Regions from separate parts of the Homo sapiens genome. Here regions 2 and 3 are each linked to region 1. The links are contacts of gene promoters, found by promoter capture Hi-C in blood cells and fetal thymus (Javierre and others, 2016). All regions are on one chromosome and are shown on one strand. The core of a region is centred on a gene start or on the middle of the fragment in contact, and the rest is flanking DNA. Distances in the headings are between cores, read along the strand shown. Region 1 holds the start of SNHG5 (small nucleolar RNA host gene 5). Region 2 overlaps RNGTT (RNA guanylyltransferase and 5'-phosphatase). Region 3 overlaps RNGTT (RNA guanylyltransferase and 5'-phosphatase).

Region 1 (3,203 bases), core at 270-2,769:
TTCTTACAAGACTACAAACATTACAACATATGTAAAAGCATTAAAAGTATTAAAAAAAAATATTGTCCTTATAACGGTCCATCTCAGAAGCCAGATCCGTAAAAGTTTTTTTTTTTCAACAGAAGTTCAGGTTCGGGATAAGATCATCACAGATAAGACCAAGGACACAATATTCACTGATCTCTAAGCAAACAGAAAAACTCCACTTACAGAAATCGTTGCAACTTTGGAACTTCCAAGACAATCTGGCCTCTATCAATGGGCAGACAGCGACCCTCACTGTTGGCAGAAAAAAAAAAAACCCAGGATTTTATAACACAACTGTTATAAAATCACGGCAACAAAATTTACTCCACCTCTGAATTACTGGTCTTAATCTCAGAAGCCGAATCCGTACTTATTTTTCTTCAGGTTATCAGCTTCGGGATAGGTTTCATCATTGATTAGACCAATCAGACCTTGTATATGTACACATAATACATTAAACTGCACTTCTGTGACACTGACTACAAACCAAGGTAATGCTAAAAGGCAAGTATTATAGTACAAATACTACAGAACTTTTAAGCCATACAACCTACTTCAAAATGAAGCTGCTAGTCAGTCACATTCGACATTCATTATCTTCACTGGCTACTCGTCCACACTCAGAACGCTGTTCACTGACAAAAAAAATTTGATTTAGTCTAGGTGTGGATTAAATGCTATGCTCAATCATAAAGTACTAAAACAACACATACCTGTTAAAAGTGTCAGGTTTTAACCAAGCGATTTTCCATTAAATATTCTCCCAGATGTTCTGGAAGTTTTTTCGTGTATCTAACAAAAAAAAGTAAATTTCAAACGATGCAACAGTTCCTATTCCTGTAAATCAACAGGTTTACTCCTTTAGTTTGGAAACTAAGCTTAACTAAGCTCTTACCTTTGCATCTTCAGAGCTGCTCCACTGTGCCACTGAAGACAGCGCCATTGTTCCTGCGGGAAATCGGTATTTAAGCATTCTCGCAGAAATGTCACACTCCAAGGCGTTTTTCCACACAAAACCCTTCCCCTTCATTAATCCGAATTGCACACAACGCCGCCTTCGAACAGCTCAGTTTCAATACAGGGTCGAGGCTTCCCATTTTAAAACAACGCCGACGGAAGGCCTTCGCCATTTTAGTAAAGGCCCTTTGCTGTTAAAACTAACCCTCCGCCCCAATTAAGGTGGTTTTTCCGCCGCCGCTCAGGCACATGCCGGAGGCCAGCAAGTTCGGCGCCCGTGGCCGATCAGCGGTTCCTCACGCCAAAACTCGGAGCCTGTGGCCGTCACGACTCAACCTCAGTACATGTGGCAGTCCGGCCGCACGTTTCCCACGTGCAAGCTTTCAACTCTCAGCACTCTAAACTCTTCACTAAGATGTCTTCACAGGATTAAAGCTCTTAACTCGGCCTGCGCCACCATCTTTTGCTCGGATACTAGCCCGCAATACCCACTCACCTACCACCCGCCCAGACGCTCGCGAAGGCCGACGTAAAAGACCGAAGTGCGCAGCCAGTAGCTCCTTATATAGCCTCCCGGAGTCAGAACGAGGCCGTCCCGCCCTCTCGCACCTATTGGACATGGAAGTAGACAGGGGTGTGGTCGCGAATTAGCGGGAGCGCGCGCGGTGGCTCTTCTGAGGCCCGTTCCGCGTTGTGGAGCGCGCCGCAGGCCGGCCGCGCGCCCGGCCATTTCCCGGCGCGCGCCCGCAGGCGCACTGCGAAGCGTCTCTTACGAGTCTGGCGGCCGACTTGGCCCTACGTGGCGCGGGTGTGGCGCCAGAATTCAAACAGCTGCAGTTGGAAACGACGCTTTCGCCTGCCACGAGCCAAGTCCGTCCAGGACAGATTGGGTCCGAGAGTGGACACAAGTTTTGCAGCGCAGGGCGGCCTCAGCTTAGGACCGATTCGAGAAGCTGGGCTGGCTGGCTGGCTGGCGCTGGGCTGTAGTGGGCCCCCAGCGGAGGCCGCCGGAGGAGCGGGCGAGCCCTGGCCGCAGCACTCCGGGAAAGGGCAGTTGGCTGGCAGAAACGCTTGGGTGAAAAAGCGGAAAGCGCCACGTGAGAACAGCCCCGGCGTGCGGCCCTGCAGGGCCTCAGGGCGGGCATCAAGGCCCCATGGGGATCCATTCCTCCTCACGCTTCCTCGTGCCAGGCATCCGGTTACACTAAACGTGACCATACAAGTCTCCCTCAAACAGCGAACGTGAGGTTCAATACTCCATTTCGCAGAGGAGAAAACTGAGGCTTAAAACAGCCAGGTAATTTGCCTAAGGTCACACAGCTGAAATGCTTTGCTAATTTTTAACTTCTTTGTACTCAATTAGTTATATTGAAAACGAGAGAAAGATTAATTTGAGAAGTATCCCTGAATACTTTATCCAGACGACAAACACAAAATTCAAAAGCAGTGCTTTGATTAATTAGCATGTTCGAGTGAATATGTCTGCGTGTGTGTGTGTGCACACGACATTTGAACATTTCAGTATTTGAAAATTCAGGTCGTTCTTCACTTCTATATTTCAAAGCACTACTTATTAAAGTTGTTTATGTGTGCATTTGATTACGGTCCGATTCTGCTAGAGTGTGGGAGCAACACATCTGATTTCGTGCTCTGCTGTTTATTTTTTCTTAGAACAGTGCCTAGCATTAAGTAGGTTGTCGGTAATGGTTAAATGAATGAATGAATGAACAAATACATTCGGTGGCTTTTTAGAAAATTAGAATGAAGATCAAACTTCACATTCAAAGATAGTAGTGAAAAGCACTTTTCTCTAACAGGAACCTATATGATGAAGTATTGACTGGGCCGGGCATTTTGTCGGTTTTTGTATTACTTTGTAATGTCTTACATAAATTTGCATATTGCTCATAGTAAATAGTAAAACAAACAATACAGTACAAAAGGATATAAGAAGCAAAGTAGGCCGGGTGTGGTGGCTTATGTCTGTAATTAGAGCACTTTTGGAGGCTGAGGTGGGAGGATTGAGCCCAAGACCCTGTCTCTATTGTATTAAAAAAATTTTTAAAAAGAGTTAACAAAAAAAGCAAAGTGAAAGTATCTTTCCACATGCCTGGGAATCTTCTCCCTAGTTGTACTCTTCAGCAATACCACTGTTAACAGTTTTTGAGACTTCCTATGCAAATGCAAATATATGTACTTCGTTTTTCACATACAAATGG
Region 2 (2,962 bases), core at 320-2,819, 3.2 Mb after region 1:
ACAATAATAGAAACGATATAAGTGAAATTAAGTTTCTGAAAGAAGAAAATAAAAAACAAAGAGATCAGCCTTGAACTGAAGACATCACTTAGAAATAAATAGCTATGACCAAGAAAATCTATAAATTCCATTATCTCCATTGCTTTGTAAGAAAAAGTGCTTCAAAAAAGCCACACAAAGATGTGCACTATAAACACATTTTTGTATTCATGTATCTTAACCCAACATGTAAATTTCCTTACTATCTTCTATTTCAGACCAATTCAAGCAACAAATATTTCAACTTTCGATGTTTCTCACCTAAGCTACTGTTTTTGTATCCAATTTTTACTCTTGCAAGATTAAATATTTTTATGAATAGGAAATGTAATAATAATTGCCAATTAGCTAATATGTCATGTGAAGATATGTAATCTAGGAAAGTACCATTTTCCTTTTAATATTCTTTATATGCAAATACAAAAAGTCTTAGTCTAATGGTTCAGTTATACATCAAAACATTTATAGATAGGGTTATAAAGTTACAAAACCATCAAAACAAACCACTATAGAAAAATGTGGGAGATTATGTATTTGATATTAAAAAATCCATTAATTAGGTATACTACAAGCTTAGATACGTCTTCAGTTTTTGTTTAAAGCAATTTTCAGTTTTCTTCATCATGAGAATGGGTCCATCTAGTGGTAAGTAAGCCACAGTTTTTAACTAAATATTAGCTCACAATTAACTATTTCAAGGCAACTTCTATTCAAATTTTTCCAGGCAAGCTAATATAATGAAATAAATGTATATGGCATTTACAATCAAACTAGGGAAAGAAACTCCCCAACAAATAGACAGAGAGATTAGCTATAGCTATACATGTTGGGGCAGTTTATAAAGGGGCTGGTGACAATGTATCTTTTTAAATAAAGCCTGATCTCAACATACACTATTTTGGAGGGTGTGGGGGGTATAGACAGGGTCTCTCTATGTTGCCAAGGCTGGTCTTGAACTCCTGGGCTCAAGAGATCCTTGGCCTTGGTCTTCTGGGATTGTAGGCATGAGCCACCACACCTGGCCCACAATTTTATTTCTATCTCACTAGCTAGATAAATTTTTTAATGCTAAAAATCCTAATTATTTGATCAGTCTAATTAGGTCAGTAGTTCTTTTTTTTTTTTTTTTTTTTTTTTTTGAGACGGAGTTTTGTTCTTTTTGCCCAGGCTGGAGTGCAATGGAGCAATCTCGGCTCACTACAACCTCTACCTCAGCCTCCTGAGTACCTGGGATTACAGGCATGCGCCACCACGCCTGGCTAATTTTGTATTTTTAGTAGAGACAGGGTTTCACCATGGTGGTCAGGCTGGTCTCAAACTCTGACCTCAGGTGATCCACCCGCCTCGGCCTCCCAAAGTGTTGGGATTACAGGCGTGAGCCACTGCACCGAGGATTCAGTAGTTCTCAACTGGGGAAGATTTTGCCCCCCAGGGGACATTTTGTAATGTCTAGAGACAATTTTAATTGTTACAATTTGTGGGATGAAGTTGAAGTCCAGCCTGAACAACATAGCCAGACCTGGTCTCTAAAAAATTATTTAATATAATACAATAAAGGCAAAAAAAATTAATGCAGTTGTTCCTCAGACTCCTCAGGGGATTGGTTCTGGGATCCCCCTCAGATACCAAAATCCTCCGATGCTCAGTGCTCAAGTGCCTTGTATAAAATGGCATAGTATTTGCATATGACCTATGAACATCCTGCCGTTTTCTTTGAATCACCTCTAGGTATTACTTATAATACCTAATGCAATGTAAGTGCTATGTGAACAGTTACTATACTGTATTTGTTGTTTTGAAAAAAGCAGGTTATTTATATGGTACAGTATGCAGCTATTATTTAACAGAACAATATTATGAGATATACATGAAATATGTTAAGGATGTGTGTATATATATTCATACATTTATATGAATATATATAACAGTCACACATACATACACATATATTGAGGTATATGACTAGAACCTACACAGCTTAAGGTAATACTGAGGCCTTTATCTGAATAAGTAAAAACAACTCACAGAAGTGTTTTCTCATTTGAGAGAAGCCATTATAGGGGTAAACATTAAATATGCTTAATGAATTCAAAGGAGGGCAGTCAAGCAATTTTAACCTCTGGCATTAGATGTCATGATTTTAGAAAGATTCATACTCCAGGTTTAGGAAAACAAATTCATCCTTGTTATAAATTGTGCAGTTGTATTCTTAGAAGAACTGATAAGAAAAACTTCTAATTGTTTTGAGTGTTTACAGGTTATAAAATTTATAGAACCTAGTGATATATATATATTTTGTTTTATATTCCCGGCAGTGATTCTGTTCATGTGGATTGAATTGGAAACATTTGCTTTGGGCCTGCCAAATTTTGGAGCACAGGATGTATTGCCAGTTATTTCTTATAGTATTACTGTAGAGACAATAACAGAAACTAGTCTCAGAACTGATTGCTGATAACACCTTTCTAAATAAAAAGCACTAAAGAATCAAGCTTAAGTAGTCTTAGGATCTGAAAATACTGTCCTGCTTTTATAGTACTTTCATTTATTTTTAGTTTCAGAGAAGGAATTTTTATCAGCCTTGCACAAACTCTTGCTGATCAATATTTGTGACCAGTAGTAAACATTTGTGATGTGGCAAAGGTTAGACTCAGGTTTCTTTTCAAAGCTGTCTTGGTTTTAAAAAAAAATCCCAGCCTGGGTGACATAGTGAGACCTGGTCTTTAAAAAAAAAAAAAGTAATCTTTGAATTAGCTGATATAATTGTTAATTTATCAATTACAGTTGACAACTGATTCAGTTATCAGTTGATAATTGGTGAGGCTGTGGGCTAATGCTGTAGGCTTCATGGAAATATAAAGTTCTTGAAACACACAGAAGCTTGAAACCTTTTCTAATCCTTAGCAGTAACTACAGCTTCATA
Region 3 (3,272 bases), core at 769-3,268, 3.3 Mb after region 1:
AAAAATAACTAAATAAAATAAAAATAAATGTGATACGTCACATAAACAGAATTAAAAACAAAAATCACATGATCATCTCAATAGATACAGAAAAAGTATTTGACAAAATCCAGTATCCCTTCATGATTAAAACCTTCAGCAAAACTGGCACAGAAGGGACGTACCTCAAGGTAATAGAGCCATACCTCAACATAATAAAAGGCATCTATGACAAACACATGACCAACACTATACTGAATGGGGAAAGGTTGAAAGCATTCCCCCTGGGAACTGGAACAAGACAAGGATGCTACTTTCACCACTTCTATTTAACATAGTACTGGAAGTCCTCACCAGAGCAATCAGGCAAGAGAAAGAAATAAAGGGCATCCAAATTGGTAAAGAGGAAGTCACACTGTCACTGTTCACTGATGATATGATTGTATACATAGGAAACCCTAAAGACTCATCCAAAAAGCTCCCAAATCTGACAAATGAATTCTTTAAAGTTTCAGGATACAAAATCAACGTACACAAATCAGTAGCACTGCTATGCACCAACAATGGCCAAGCTGAGAATCAAATCAAGAACTCAATCCCTTTTACAACAGCTGCATAAAAAAAATAATAACAATAGAATACTTAGGAATATACCTAACCAAGGAGGTGAAAGATCTCTAAAAGGAAAACTACAAAACACTACTGAAATAAATCACAGATGACACAAACAAATGGAAACACATCCCATGCTCATAGATGGGTATAATCAATACTATGAAAATGATCATACTGCCAAAAGCAATCTTTAGATTCAATGCAATTCCCATCAAAGTACCATCATCATTCTTCACAGAACCAGAAAAAGCAATCCTAAAATTCATTGAACCAAAAAAGAGCCCAAATAGCCAAGGTAAGCAAACAAAAAAGAACAAATGTAAAGGCATCACATTACCCAACTTCAAATTATACTACAAGACTATAGTAACCAAAACAGCATAGTACTGGTATAAAAATAGGCACACAGACCCATGGAACAGAATAGAGAACCCAGAAAGAAAGCCAAACACTTACAGCCAACTGATCTTTGACAAAGCAAACAAAAGCATAAAGTGGGGAAAGGACACCCTATTCAACAAATGGTCCTGGGATAACTAACAAGCTACGCGTAGAAGAATGAAACTCATCTCTCACCTTATACAAAGTCAACTGGAGATGGATCAACTCAAACTTAAGTAAGATCTGAAACCATAAAAATTCTAGAAGATAACATTGGAAAAAACTCTTCTAGACATTGACTTAGGCAGAGTTCGTGACCAAGAACCCAAAAGCAAATGCAACAAAAACAAAAATAAATAGATGGAACCTAATTAAACTAAAAAGCTTCTGCACAGCAAAAGAAATAATCAGCAGAGTAAACAGACAACCCACAGAGTGGGAGAAAATCTTCGCAAACTATGCATCTGACAAAGAACTAATATCCAGAATCTACAAGGAACTGAAACAAATGAGCAAGAAAAAAACAAATAATCCCATCAAAAAGTGGACAAAGGACATGAACAGACAAAAGAAGATATACAGTTGGCCAAGAAGCATATGAAAAATGTTCAACATCACTATCAAGGAAATGCAAATTAAAACTACAATGAGATACCACCTTACTCCTGCAAGAATGGCCATAATTAAAATATCAAAAAATATTAGATGTTGGCATGAATGTGGGGAAAAGGTAACACTTTTACACTGCTGGTGGGAATGTAAATTATTACAACCACTAGGGAAAACAGTATGGTGATTCCTTGAAGAACTAGAAGAACTACCATTTGATCCAGCAATCCCACTACTGGGTATCTACCCAGAAGAAAATAAGTCATTATCTGAAAAAGCCACTTGCACAGGCATGTTTACAGCAGCACAATTTGCAATTGCAAAAATGTGGAACCAGCTTAAATGCCCAAGAACCAATGAGTGGATAAAGAAAATGTGATATGTATATATACCATGGAATACTACTCAGCCATAAAAAGGAATGAAATAATGGCATTCATGGCAACCTAGATGGAGTTGGACCCCATCATTCTAAGTGAAGTAACTCAGGAATGGAAACCCAAATATCCTGTGTTCTCACTTGTAAGTGGGAGCTAAGCTATGAGAATGCAAAGACATAACAATGATATAATGGACTTTGGGTACTCAGGGGGAAGTGTGGAGAGGGGGGATGAGGGATAAAAGACTACTACAGTGTACACTCCTTGAGTGACAGGTGCACCAAAATCTCAGAAATCATCACTGAAGTACTTATCCATGTAACCAAAAACCACCTGTCCCCCAAAAACTACTGAAATAACATAAAAATGTTTTTTAAAAAGATCTTTACTAAAGATCTCTATTTGAGCAATCAGGATCTTAATATCTCCTCCAACCTGCTTCTCTCTCAGTAAGCCCTAATAATATCAACTATCTCATGTGCATAAGCCAGACATTTGAGACTAAATTTTGACCCTCTTTCCCTCATTCTAAATACGACATCAAGTTCTGTCCATTTTCCCTTCTTAATATCTCTCAAATTAGCCTTCTACTCTTCATCTGTCACTTTTAAACTATCACTATTGTCTTTCACCTGGACTACAACAAGTTCCTAATTAGTCTCTCCATTTCCACTCTTTTCTCCATCAATTCATTAAACACAGAAAAGTCAAAGTAAGCTTTTAACTTGGATTCAAATAATCTCATCTCGATGCTGAAAAAAAAAACTGCAATTGTATGCCACTGAAAATTTAAAGCATATAAATATTAGGATACCTTATCACACCCTACTTGCCTGTATGATCAGGCTATTCTCCAACCTCTTAACCTCACTTACATCTTCCAGAACAAAGACACTTTTTCAGTCTATTATCTCTCCCATCATCATCCTATCCTAACAGAAACTTTCAATAACACCCCCTGCCAACTATTTATCTAGAAAACTTCTATTTACTGAAGATAATTCATGTATGACCTTCTCTGGGAAGTCTCACCTGATCTCCTTCTTCCTTCCCATCTCTTCTTCCTCAACCTCAAAGAATTAGGTTTATTACCTCTGATTCCCATCATATACCACAATAGAGTCATTGCTACATTTTTTACAACAGAACTGTGCTTAAAATGGATGGTTTGCTACTCCCATGAGACTCTGCTTTTTAAGGGTAATATATCTTAGCCATCTCCCTAGCACCCAGGACTAGCACAAAGTAGACATTTAAATATTTGCTAAATAAAATGACTTCAAAATCACCATCACTATCACCATCACA

Evidence for each region. The method cuts DNA at HindIII sites, captures the fragments that hold promoters and counts their contacts. A CHiCAGO score of 5 or more calls a contact.
Region 2: a contact is called between a fragment that was not itself captured here and the fragment with the promoter of SNHG5 in region 1, in 1 of 17 cell types (monocytes). The highest score is 8.1, in monocytes.
Region 3: a contact is called between a fragment that was not itself captured here and the fragment with the promoter of SNHG5 in region 1, in 1 of 17 cell types (non-activated CD4 T cells). The highest score is 7.3, in non-activated CD4 T cells.

Annotation. Positions count from the first base shown.
Region 1 is chr6:85,677,214-85,680,416 of GRCh38, forward strand. It overlaps SNHG5 (small nucleolar RNA host gene 5), which reads right to left and starts at 1,520. Exons shown (of 6, transcript NR_003038.2): 1 at 1,481-1,520; 2 at 923-975; 3 at 741-819; 4 at 582-662; 5 at 211-279. SNORD50B (small nucleolar RNA, C/D box 50B) reads right to left here and starts at 446; the gene lies at 376-446. It overlaps SNORD50A (small nucleolar RNA, C/D box 50A), which reads right to left and starts at 155; the gene lies at 81-155. RefSeq lists enhancers at 1,101-1,160, 1,331-1,490. The HindIII fragment of the contact is 13,479 bases long and covers 1,363-3,203 here.
Region 2 is chr6:88,918,556-88,921,517 of GRCh38, forward strand. The region is part of intron 4 of RNGTT (RNA guanylyltransferase and 5'-phosphatase); the gene reads right to left. Among named protein-coding and RNA genes, the nearest start is that of RNGTT, 44 kb to the right of the region's middle. The HindIII fragment of the contact is 1,920 bases long and covers 610-2,529 here.
Region 3 is chr6:88,957,033-88,960,304 of GRCh38, forward strand. The region is part of intron 1 of RNGTT (RNA guanylyltransferase and 5'-phosphatase); the gene reads right to left. Among named protein-coding and RNA genes, the nearest start is that of RNGTT, 4.9 kb to the right of the region's middle. The HindIII fragment of the contact is 1,322 bases long and covers 1,358-2,679 here.